2 separate regions of the Homo sapiens genome follow, and region 2 is linked to region 1. Evidence: promoter capture Hi-C in 16 types of primary human blood cells and fetal thymus (Javierre and others, 2016). All regions are on one chromosome and are shown on one strand. Each heading gives the region's core, a stretch centred on a gene start or on the middle of the fragment in contact. The rest is flanking DNA. Distances are from core to core; before and after follow the strand shown. Region 1 holds the start of RNF2 (ring finger protein 2). Region 2 overlaps ODR4 (odr-4 GPCR localization factor homolog).

The links. The method cuts DNA at HindIII sites, captures the fragments that hold promoters and counts their contacts. A CHiCAGO score of 5 or more calls a contact.
Region 2: a fragment that was not itself captured here is called in contact with the fragment with the promoter of RNF2 in region 1 in 3 of 17 cell types (total B cells, naive CD8 T cells and non-activated CD4 T cells); the score reaches 6.0 in total B cells.

The regions. Positions count from the first base shown.
Region 1 is chr1:185,042,704-185,049,203 of GRCh38, forward strand. RNF2 (ring finger protein 2) reads left to right here and starts at 2,855. Exons shown (of 7, transcript NM_007212.4): 1 at 2,855-2,946. RefSeq lists a silencer at 2,485-2,744. The HindIII fragment of the contact is 4,610 bases long and covers 1,519-6,128 here.
Region 2 is chr1:186,378,461-186,384,960 of GRCh38, forward strand. ODR4 (odr-4 GPCR localization factor homolog) reads left to right here. Exons shown (of 14, transcript NM_017847.6): 2 at 1,307-1,424; 3 at 4,562-4,696. The coding sequence starts at 1,326. Among named protein-coding and RNA genes, the nearest start is that of ODR4, 5.9 kb to the left of the region's middle. The HindIII fragment of the contact is 1,244 bases long and covers 3,295-4,538 here.

The sequences.
Region 1 (6,500 bases), core at 1,605-4,104:
TGAATCACTACTGATATATTTACTATGGAGTTTACATCGATATAATATACGATTAAAACAACAGGGAAGAAAATGGAAAGTCCACTCTATTTACATGGCAGTCAACTCTTAATAAGTAAGAGAGTTTACTTTTGAACGCATAACTTTCTTGGGGTCACTCAAGAGAACCAGTGTTACAGAATAAAACCTCTTAGAATTTTCCCATGGCATCTAGGAACCTAGTGGTGAGGTCAGGGTGGCTGACGTTAGCATTGTTCACCAATGTCCCCACTTCTCTTTCTGAACTCAGTTCAAGGACTCAGTCCCTTTGCAGATGTGTGGGGCTGTACAACCAGTTCTGGGCAATGAAATGTGATCAGTGCTCTCTTTTCCAAGCTAAGGCTACGAAAAATTCACGGGGATTCTTTAGCCATTTTCTTCCTCTGCTGCAGAGAATAAGTTTCTGTGTTCCAGGGTGGTACAGCTACAAGATGGTGGTGTCTCTATCAATCTGGTTCCTGGAGTGACCAGAACAGAGTGAGTTGGATCCACATGAAGCATGAAGCATAACCAAACAATAACTTTTGTTGTGTTAAGGCATGTAGATTTTGGAGATGTTTGTTACTATACCATAACATAACCTTTCCTGATTAATATAGTCAGAGAAGATCCAGTGCCAAGTTTCTGAGTAAGAGATAAAATAGATAAAATGAGTTCCATTAATTTGTCAGTAGTGTTTTTCATATTAAGGATGTTAGCCTGAGGTCTAGCTTTTTAATCACATTTAATCCAGATATCCCATAAGTTTTCCGTTTTTCCACTAATTCTCCTGTGAGTCTTTTTTAAGCACTATATTTAACTTTCATCCATAAAGTTCCTGCGCTTTCTACAAATCATCACTTTTCTCAACATCAATTGAATTGCTTAATCTAACCACACATCATGATTTTCAAAGGCATTTTAATTAGAGCAAAAGTTCTAAATTATGAACACCTGTCTTCCTTTAATTGAACTACACATGCACTCGTCATGAAGGAAGAAGGGAGATGCTTCTGCAACTGCACTGTTTCTAGAAAGTGGACTTTCACAAGAAGGGAGAAGCAGAGCTTCCCTGATTATTTTGATTTTGTTGTTGTTGTTGTTTTGTTTTGTTTTGAGACGCAGTCTCGCCGAGACACCCAGGCTGGAGTGTCATGGCGCGATCTCGGCTCACTGCAACCTCTGCTTCCCAGGTTCAAGCGATTCTCCTGCCTCAGCCTCCCGAGTAGCTGGGACTGCAGGCGCGTGCCACGACACCTGGCTAACTTTTTTTTGTATTTTTAGTAAAGACAGTTTCACCATATTGGCCAGGCTGATCTCGAACTCCTGATCTCAAGTGATCCGGTGGCCTTGGGCTCCCAAAGTGCTGAGATTACAGGCGTGAGCTACCACACCCAGCCTTTTTTTCTCCCCCCACATTGGAGGAAGAGTTTAACCTTGAAGGGCTTGTAGAGTCAGATAACTGTCACTTGTTATTTAAAGTTATAGATAGTAGGCAAAAGCTTTCAAGCCACTGAAAAAGAATAATGCTTGTTTTCTTTGATGGATTGTTAGGTAGCATATATAATGTGCTGTATTTAACACCTGTCCTTTTTCTTTCCACCCATCCAAGGCGTCAAAGGCCATCTTAAATCCCGGCTCCTCAGGAAATCATCCCCAAACACACCAGCTGGAATTGATATTTTTCTTTTCCAAATTCCTATGTAAATTCATGTCATTTATTTGGAATTGCTTATAGAGAGTTTCAGAGCGTTAAAGAACTGGAAAGGACCTAGGATTCAATACAATTCTCTCATCTCGCAGACGAAGAAAATGAAGTGCAGAGGAGCTACGCAATCTACGTAAGTCACATAGACACACATTGGAGGCTATGAACCTAGTTTGCCCAATTCCCACTGCAGTCCATTGGTTTATGCCTCTATGCCTTCAGATTTACGGTCTGGTATTGCTGGTTATCTTCTCAAGAGAACATGACATCTCAACAATAGTACATATAGAGATCAGGGAACTTTCAATTCTTCGTTACTTCTTCAGCTCATAATTTATATGCATTAAATGTCGGATAATTTACTGGAGACTAACTGGCTGTGTTTTAGGTAATGATTACATCTATTAATCTATTACTTCGTAAATCCTCAAGTTCAGAAGGTAACACTGGAAGGGGCCAAGGAGGTAGGAATAAAGCAGCAGCAAGGTAAATAGTAAGAGCTGATGACCACAATCAGAATGTTAAGCTAAGTTTAGAGTGGAAGGTCATTTTCCCAGGAGCAATTACACTTGCAGTTTTATCCTGCAAGGATGAAAAGTGTATGTTTGTTGTACGAGAGCGGAAGGGTGCCGAAGTTCATGTGAAGTTCTGCAAACCAAAGCCTGATGAGGATTTCCGCCGGGTGGGACAGGTTTAAGAGGACGAACTCATGAGAAAGAAGTCTGAGCCCAAACCCCAGAAGCCGGCCAGGAAGGTGTAAAGGGTGGGCCGAAGCCAGGGCAGAAGAACCCAAGCAGAAGGTTGAGCACGAGGTGGCTGCGCCGTCATCCGGGCGTTGCCCGGGGGCTACGTCGGACCGCGGTGGGCGCCGGGGGGGCGTGGCCGGCCAGCCCAGGGCGGGGCGGTGGCGCGGGTTCTCCAGGCCAACACGCGGCGGCGCACCCTCCCTCGCGCCGCGGGCCTCCCCGCGCCGTGCACGTCCTCGTCCCGCGCCTCCGCCCCTCGCTCGCTCGCTCCTTCCCGCCCTCCCCGCAGCGCCGGCCGAGCCGGCTTCCCCTCAGTCTCTCATGAATATTGAGCGGCCCCTGTTGTATTTCCCGAGCTCCATTGCGGAAGCTGAGGCTCGCCATATTGTGCGGCGGCGCCGGCGTCCGCGGCAGCTGATACCAGAGTCTTGCTCCGGCCGCGGCCAGCGGAGCCCTGGGCTGGGGCAGGAGCCGGTGAGTGGGGCGGGCGGGGAGGCGAAGGACGCGGAAGCAGCGGGCCGGGACACGCGTCTACTCGGCAGCGTTGCAGGCGACTGACGGGGGCCCCGGAGTGTGGGGGGGGTGTGTGTCCGCGGGGGTGTGAAGGGACATGGCGCCGCCGCCGCCCCCGGCCGCTCTCGCGGCGGAGACGGCGGGTGAAGCGGGTTCTCATTGTTCCCGTGTCTTCGAGGGTCGTGGGAGGGAAGGGAGCTGGTTTGCGGAGGACCCAGTCAGCGAAGCGCCGGGATTCCTTCCTTCGCCGCGAGCCTTTCGCTGCCCTTTCCTCTGCGCGGAGGCCGGCGCTGCGGCGCGGTCCCCTCGCCTCCGGGGGCGGGGGCCCCAGCCTCTCTGCAGCCCTACTCCGGAGGCGGACGGAGTGGAATGCGAGTTTTTTCTCTGGGCTTTCGCCTCGCAGCTAGGGATGTGTGTCTGCATCGTGGGGGTGGGGTAGGGGGCACTTTGTGCAGATATCGCTCCTTCCTTCTGGGGGGTCGGAGTCGGGGTTCCAGTGTAGAGGAGCTCCTCGACCTCGGGGTTCCTCGGGGAGACCCCTTCAGCTTCACACATTCCTGGAGTGCCGCCTCCTGCTCTGGAGTATCTGTTGCTGCTTTCTAAAACCGTGAGCTTACCCAGGAGGAGTCGTGGGGGGAGGGGGTGTCTTGGTTAGTTTCTGCGGGAAGATTCGCGTTTTGAACCGTGTCGTTTACGCTGAGATGCTAGTACCCACTTTTGCCGGGAGCCCACGTCCTGCTGGTCAGAATCGTTTACCTTCTACAGAAGTCTCCTTCTTGCTTTCAGAGATGGTGTTAGTAAAAATTGATCTCAAACTTTGAGGTTCATTCCAGTTATTTGCCCGCTAAGATCAATTATAGACTCATCTATTTGAAGCCCCTTTGGGTATCTTTTTCGAGGCTGTCGGAAGTTTTAGAGAATGTAACTTTACATTGTAAAATGATTTGAAGATGTCAGGTTTCTTTGAAGTGCCGTGAAAAGGATATACATATGCACTCAGTATTTTAGTAATACGCTGTTTTTCAATTAAAAAAATTAAGGCATGGTTTCAGTGTTCTAAACCGAGGATATGTTTAAAACGAATGTACGAGCGATTTGCATTACATAATCTACTTTTGGTAATTCCAAGATGATCAGCTGGAATACTTAGTCTAATTGGTAGCTAATCTATCTGTTTTGTATTAAGTGCAGTTGTTGAATATTCTAATAACTGAGGTGGGTGTGAGAGTTTGCTTCTTATAGTGAAATTTGATCCTTGGATTTATAAAGTATTTAAATAGCAGCAATATGACTCTTGGTTATTCCCTTTTTCCCCTGAAATTTCTACTTTTCACAATCAACAAGTATCTTTAAAAATCTTGATTGTACTCTTAAACTACTTTTTAGCAAAATAATAGGTAGTTATAGGTGACTCCTTTTTCTAGGGGTAGCACAGCAAATATGGTCCCTCACTTTTTGTAAGGATTGTAGTTATTTTCCTCAGGTATCCTTGTGGCATCCACATTTGAGGTTAATTATAGTAGAGGCAGATTTACGAAGAAAAATTGCCCGAGTCAGGCCAATCCGTTTGAGTATTTGAAAAATAAGCTAGTTGTCCTAAAGTGTGTTGCATAGAAAAATTTCCAGTTACAATCACTAACATAATGTAGACCATGCAGACTTTCAAAATACTGGGAATTTGGAGTTTTTCTCTGCCTGTGTGAAGCTCCCAGGTTTGAATGGATAGAAATATAGACCAGGTCAGCAAACATGTTTGGAATTTTATTAGTGACCTACAGTTTGTGGTGTCACGTCTGTGTCTCTAATCTGATTTATTCATGATTTGTGTTTATATTATGCAGACTTTGGAGTAAAGGTGATATATATGCCTAATGAATAATATATAACCAGATGTTTCAGTGACAGTTTCATTTCTATACATTAGCAAAGAAGCATAATTTCTTCCAGCAAGAGAAATGAGTTAATATTAAAACGCACTTTATTAAAATTATGGCAGTGTTTCTAGTATGACTTAAAGCGCTTCATAATTTTGAAATGACTCATTAAATTCTGGATAAACTAAAAATCCATCACAGTTTGCAGCTTTTAAAAGAAAAATAAGAGATTATGTACTCTGCGCACGTACACATCTACAATTGGTTTTTAATTCGTGTTATTGCACACACTGTAGAAGACATTGTCATCAGACAATGGTTAATTTCTCGATTGATTCATTTATTTGACATCTAAGCTGTCATAGTAACTTAGTGTTTATTTGCATTTAATACTGAGTAGGTGCCCATATAATTTGGGGTACAAAGGTATAATAGCATTTACACAGTCCATTCCTTAAGGGTCCAGATATCCTGACTGTTTGCCTACTGGTCTTCTACCCTTTCTACCTAATGTGTCTACTGGGTCTTCTGGTATTTCTTGGGGGAAGCGCAGTTTGATTGGTCTTACATAAATATTTTGACTGTGGTCATGGGACTCTTGGCATTTAAGTAGAAGCTAGTGTTAGTGTGTTGCCAGGCAGGAGCTAGGTGATGAGTCCCTGACTATAGGTGCTAAGAGCGTAGGTGTGACCCATTATCCAGTTTTATGTTGTGTGGAGCAACTCCGGTAGAATTGGCCATGTTCTTAATTCTCCTTTGCTTTACGGTTTTTAGACAGCTGAGGCAGAGTGGTATGATTAGGCTTAGTTATGTATCTTGTTGGATGCTCAAGGAGCTATATACATTACTAAAAATTCTAAGATTTCTATTGCTTAAATTTACTTCTCCCATTTCATTTTGAGAATTAACATGTTTGCCATTTATCATAATTTTTAAAAATCAGTTTATCTGTATTAAGTACAATGGTGAAAAGTTATTTTTGAAATTAACCTTGGGTTAAATTTTCTAATGAGAGCATACTATTAAGTGAAGTAACCAGCCAAATGAAAAACATGTAAGCATTTTGGTCATTTGTTTTCAAAAGATATGTTACTTACGGGCTCTTCTGCAAGGGGGATTTCTTTTTGTTTCTATGCTATAGAGTGGAGTTGTATGAAGAGGTTAGATTCTAAAGTCGATGCATAGAATGAAAATCACATGTAGTAAAAAAAAAAATCATGCTTGAAAATCCCTCAGGAAGGCAGAACAACATACCAATAAGTTCAGCTAAGCTTTGGTGTTGGAACACATTGCAGTTTCTTGGTGTTTCTTTGAGCACTGCGTGAAGTAGTTAGCTTGCATTTAGGGACCTTGCATTTGGGGCGGGGATGGGGGAGGTGCCTTGGGAGGGGAGTGCCTTTAAATTTAAGAATCTGGATCCATTGGGAGGCCGAAGTAGGTGGATCACGAGGTCAAGTGTTCGAGACCAGTCTGACCAACTTGGTGAAACTCCGTCTCTACTAAAAATACAAAAATTAGCCAGGCATAGTGGCGCGCGCCTGTAATCCCAGCTACTCAGGAGGCTGAAGCAGGAGAATTGCTTGAACCCAGGAGGTGGAGGTTGCAGTGCATGCCACTGCACTGCATCCTGGGTGACGGAGC
Region 2 (6,500 bases), core at 2,667-5,166, 1.3 Mb after region 1:
TTTATTCAATATCTTTGGTTTTAAGCTATAGAAATGCAAATCAAAGGAGCATAAGCCAATAGAGGGAATGAATATACTGACTTCCATCCACAGACCAGAGGGAAAACAGAGTAAGAGCTACCCGTAGTAATGATTTAATTGAAGGACTGGTTACGATTCCTCATTATGAGCGTGGTGTTGAAAAACATGGATTCTAGAGCCAGAGTGTCTGAATTTAAGTCCCTCCTTTGCCACTTACCCAGCTTTGTCACTTTGGCAAGTTATTTAATCAACTTTTCTCATTTCAGTTTCTTCATCTATAAAATGAGGATTATAATAATGGTACCCACTTCCTGGGGTTTTATGAATTATTAATGTTACATGGAAAGTACTTACAATAATGCGTTGTACAAAGTAGAAGCTATATGTTGTTATTGTATTGCTATTTATCTACTTAAATAACTCTTACTGTAGTATGTATTGCTCAAGGACAGAGATTGTGTTGCTCATCTTTGTGTTATCCCACTTAGCATAGTTTCTAAGCAAATAGTATAGTTCTTTCATATATGCTTATCAAGTAAATGAATTTGACTCTACCTCCTAATGAACTATTCAGAAATTCATGTTTACGATTTTAGCAATGAGAACACCAAGACTTAGCAATAGAGTATCAAAGATAATACAACTAGGGAGTAGATCTAAAATAAGAAATCTGGTGTGTTGGCTGGGCATGGTGGCTCACGCCTGTAATCCCAGCACTTTGGAGGCCGAGGCGGGCGGATCACCTGAGGTCAGGAGTTCGAGACCAGCCTGGCCAACATGGTGAAACCCCGTCTCTACTAAAAACACAAAAATTAGCCGGGCATGGTCGTGAGCCCCTGTAACCCCAGCTACTCAGGAGGCCGAGGCAGGAGAATCACTTGAACCTGGGAGGCAGAGGTTACAGTGTGCCGAGGTTGCGCCACTGCACTCCAGCCTGGGTGACAAGAGCAAAACTCCGTCTCAAAAAAAAAAAAAAAAAAAAGAAATCTGGTGTGTTGCTTACTAGTTTAGTATCCTCTCCCTTATCCCAGGTATGAGTAAAAGGTTTGATCTCTCATGTCAACTCTGGTTGATTTGTGGTTGTTTCCTGCTGCATTGTATTGAGAAGAACTCTGGAACTGCATCTGAACTTTGCAAGAAGGAATACACTATGTAATAAGTATTTGCTGCAAGGCATGAGATAGCCTCAGGATAGTATCACTTCTCTTGCTAAACTACTCCCATGATAAAGACATTGCAAATGATATTTTACCTAAATGCTGTATCTTTTCTTCTTGTGATATAGGAGATTTTAGTTCCTAAAAATGGGAAGAACCTACATTGTAGAAGAGACTGTTGGCCAGTATCTTTCAAACATAAATCTCCAAGGAAAGGCTTTTGTCTCTGGCCTTTTAATAGGACAGGTATGTATCTTTTACTCTGCATTTATAACTAAATAATTACTCTGTAATTTATTTTAAAAATTACTTGTTGATTTAAAGTTAAAAGATGCTATTTAATAATAAACTCAAGATTGGGGGATGGAAGAAGAAATGTGGAAGAAGTAACTTTAAAGTAGGTCTTTGAGGAAACATGGAGAAGTAGACAAACCTAGCCCAATTTTGCTCGTCAGGACACCTTCCCCTTTGACCATGTAAACGTAATTTATAATATGGAAACTTCAGAATTAGAATGTTTATTGACCAGATTTTTCACATTTTGTTGTCTTTCCAAAGTGTTTTGTATTCCCTTCTAATCTTTTTAATATCTGGTTGTCCAGTTCTTTACAAAAGAAGCTTTTGAAAATTTTATTCCTGTTCTAATTTGTGTTGTCTTATATCAGACTTATGGCAACAGTGGTCATATTTTTGTTGTAAGCTATAGTACCCATCTTACTGAATTTTTTGTTGTTGTTGTTGGATCAATAGGGAGGGAGAGGGATTGGGAAAAATTTGGAAATTAGACAAATTCTAATTTCCTCTTAGAGCTGAGTCTTAAAAACACAAAATGGAACAGAGATTCAGATACTTATTTTAAAACCCATGCCACTGATTTCTTATGAGTGAAGGAAGAACGTGTTAATCGGCAGGAGGGACCGGTCAGCAGTACAAAGCCAAAAAAAAAAAAAAAGGAGAGTCACACAGGCAAGCTGACTGTGTCCATCCAAACACAGGAGAGTGCACTTTGGCCCAAGGACTTGATTTTGAGGCCTACTAGCCAATAAAGCTCTTATTGGGACAATTTTCTTTCTAGATATCTTAGCCTGATGCCTTAGAATCTTCAAATTACATAATTAACTTTCCTTATTCTGATTCTACCCATATTCCCAAGCTACTTTCTTTTATAATTTGATGCCCCATGTTATCTACTTATAAAGAATACACTGTCCAGAGGACTCAAGTGTTCAGATGCCTTCATGACATTTTAGTTTTCTACATCATTCTGAATAAACTTAATCAATGTCAGTCTAGCCATGAAAGACAGGCTCATTTTCAGAATTTTTACAAATCAGATTTCTTAATTTGCAAGACAGAGGGCAGATCTACATGGTTCAACCAGGTAGCACCACTCTGTGAGGCCTCTCATTAGACAGCCAGACTGCCTCTCTTGAGAACAGTGTGAATTTCTTTTTAATTCAGTTGTAATGTGGGGCTCTTTTTGTTAGGAGTTTTCTATTTAAGTTTTTTTCTTTCTCTTTGTTTAAAACATTTAAGAGAAGAAGAGTCTTAGAGAAAGATGTGATCAGTAGAGATAAAAAGTCAGGGAGAAAGACCCTCTTCTAAATTTGTCTTAACTGGATAAAGGTTGTTTCTAAAGCTCAGGCAAACTGCCATCTTACAAATGAGTGTCTCATAATTTAAGGCCTTCCTTCTTTTTTTTTTTTTTGAGACGGAGTCTCGCTGTCGCCCAGGCTGGAGTGCAGTGGCGCAATCTCGGCTCACTGCAGGCTCCGCCCCCTGGGGTTCACGCCATTCTCCTGCCTCAGCCTCCCGAGTAGCTGGGACTACAGGCGCCCGCCACCTCGCCCGGCTAATTTTTTGTATTTTTAGTAGAGACGGGGTTTCACCGTGTTAGCCAGGATGGTCTCGATCTCCTGATCTCGTGATCCGCCTGCCTCGGCCTCCCAAAGTGCTGGGATTACAGGCGTGAGCCACCGCGCCCGGCCTAAGGCCTTCCTTCTATCTCTTTTTATGCTGTAGTATGTATTGCTCACGGACAGAGCAATTCATTCCTTTCAGTATTCTACGTGCTTTTTCTTCCAGAGTTCATTACTTTTTCCTCTCCTTCCTCTTAAGCTTGCCTGTTTCCTGGTCTCTGTCAGTTTCTTTTTCTTTTCAAAGTTATACATTTTATGAAGAAAAGAGGAGCCTTCTTAACTGAGACCTACTTTCTTTTCCTGTGTTTATTTGAATGTAACTTCCTGAAAATAACCTGTAGGAATAGTTACTCTTATTTTCTATCCCAAGATGATACTAATGATCAGAGTTTCAGGTCATGTGTGGGGAAGATACAATGCTAACTTGCATTAGCAGTGTTATTTTCACTCTTTTTTTATAGGAAACTTTCACTGTAGTGAAACTGAGCTATTGAATGTTCCCCTACATTTATTTTTAGATCTCCCAACTTTGGTTACTACTTAACTGATATTACAGCTGAAGAACAGATTGGGTGTGGTGGCTCATGCCTGTAATCCCAATGCTTTGGGAGGCCGAGGTGGGAGGATTGCTTGAAGGTCAGAGTTTGACCTAGCCTGGGCAACATAGCAAGACTCTGTCTCTACAAAAAAGTAAAAAAAAAAAAAAAAAAAAGCCAGGCATTATGGCTGATTGTTTGAGCCTGTAGTCCTAGCTACTTGGGAGACTACTTGGGGGGAGGATTGCTTGAGCCCAGGAGTGCAAGGTTGCAGTGAGCTATGATCACACCACTGCACTCCAGCCTGGGCATTAGAGCAAGACCCTGTCTCTAAATAAATAAATAAATACACACACACACAAAGAACAAAAAACAAAACAAAACAAAAAACTTGAGGAACATAGAATCTGTATCACTTTAAATTGTGTCCCAAATCCCCTTTGTTATTCTGTGGAAATGTATGTGGAAGTTCCCTACTGTCATCATTTCAATTAAAATAAGATACAAAAGGTCACTTGTTGTTTCATTTTACTAATATTTTCCGATCTGTTCATTTATAACTTATAAAACAAATATAACTAGAAAACTGAATAAGCATATTACTTTTTAGTTAATGTAATTCATTCACTCATCCAGTAAACCATTTTTAGGGACCACTCCATGATTTACATTTGAGTTGTCCAAATAAATAAGAAGCTGATATTAAATACATTAAAAGATAAACAACATGTGAGGGAAAGATTGTAAGGCCATCCTTGAAAATTAGCTTCCCTTTAGCTTCCATTATAATGTGGGTATTAATGATTTAACCTGTTACAAATATTACTCAGTTTTTGCATGTCATAAAAGCTAAGGAATTTAGGTATCACTCTAATTAGATTGAGGAATCAGATATCACTCTAACAAGCTTTTTAATTTGTTGTTGAAGTGTTCGTCACAAAAGGATTATGTGATTCTTGCCACTAGAACGCCACCCAAAGAGGAGCAAAGTGAGAACCTCAAACATCCCAAAGCTAAGTTGGATAACTTGGATGAAGAATGGGCCACAGAACATGCCTGCCAGGTTATCTTATTTTTTTGTTTATATGTTTAAGTTTTATTTCAAAAAAGAGCTAGAATCAAGAAGATTTAGTGAATGAGTAGAGAGAAGAGACATAGGGAGAAAGTAGCTAAAGATGACTGAGATTTTTAGTCTGGGTGTCTAGGAGGATACTGTTGGCATTACACGAGGAAGAAACAGATTTGGGATGGGTGAGTGGGAATAATGACTAAATTAATTCACTTACAAGTATTTATTGAATGAATTATATATCATCAAATAAATAATGTTAGAATAAGGTAAAAATAGAATTATTTCCTTTTCTGGGGTTGGGGGTGAGGGGAGGGAACTTAGAGGACAGGTCAATAGGTGCAGCAAGCCACCATGGCACACGTAAACCTATGTGACAGACTTGCACATTCTGCGTTTTTGTTTGTTTGTTTTAAGAAAAAGAATTTTCTTTAATAAATAAAAGATTTATTTCCTTTTCCAATCAACTTTAAATCTTTAAATCTTTTAAACTCAAACGTGTTTCTGTGTATGTAGATATATATATATATATATATGGACATATATTTGTGTCTGTGTATGTGTTTGATTATGGAGCAGTGTGTAGTTATATTTAAAAAAAAAATAAAATCTTGCCTGTAATCCCAGCACTTTGGGAGGCCAAGGTGGGTGGATCACCTGAGGTCAGGAGTTCAAGACCAGCCTGGCCAACATGGTGAAACCCCGTCTCTAGTAAAAATATGAAAAACTAGCCAGGTGTGGTGGCAGGTGCCTGTAATCCCAGCTACTTGGGAGGCTGAGGCAGGAGAATTGCTTGAACCTGGGAGGCGGAGGTTGCAATGAGCCAAGATCACACCATTGCACTCCAGACTGGGCGACAAAGCGAGACTCTGTCTCAACAAAACAAAACGAAGAAATCCAGTATTTAATTATTATTGTTTTAGTCTGTTTGGGTGGCTATTAAGGAATACCTAAGACTGAGTAATTTATAAAGAAAAAAAGGCCTGTTTGGCTCATGATTCTGCTGGCTGCAAGATTGAGCATCTGGTCAAAGCCTCAGGCTGCTTCTGTTCATGTCAGAAGGCAGATTGGAGCTGGTGTGTAAAGATCACTGGGCCAGAGAGGAAGCAAGGGGTTGGGAGGTGCTAGGCTTTTTTTTTTAACAACCAGCTCTCGTAGGAACAAATATAGCGAGAACTCATTCACTGCTCTGAGGATGGAACCAAGCCATTAATGAGGGATCTGCCCCATGACCCAAACACCTTCCATTAGGCCCCACTTGGGTTCACATTTCAACATGGTGTTTAAGGGGACAAACATGGCAACTATCTTCTAAAGAAAATATTAAGTAATGTAAAGTTAAATTCCCAATGGTTTGTAAATAACTTTCTACTCTAATTTTGCTTTTGGTCTCTCATAAAATTGTATATGACACACACACACACACACACACACACACACACAGAATATTAATGAATTTATATAGTAAATTAGCTTAACCTTTTACCTCTAGAAAGAAAAGGTTAATTTTACTTTTTCCCCTTTCTTGCTCTCACCTCCATCTCCTAAAAAATGGTTACTTTTTTGTGTTGGTGATTTTGAAAAGATATGCAGGCTCCTTATGCTAAATATGAAAACTTTATTTGTCAGAATTGTGCTACTATAGTAAATAGAATTTATTAAATCAGAGGAAAACACCGAAAGACATAGTGCAAGTAGATTAAGGATTAGAGCATGGTACCTAATTTTCTAAGACTGTACTCTGATTGATTGCTTGTACATTAAGTAATCAAAAGCTAACCAAAACACTCTAATCTCT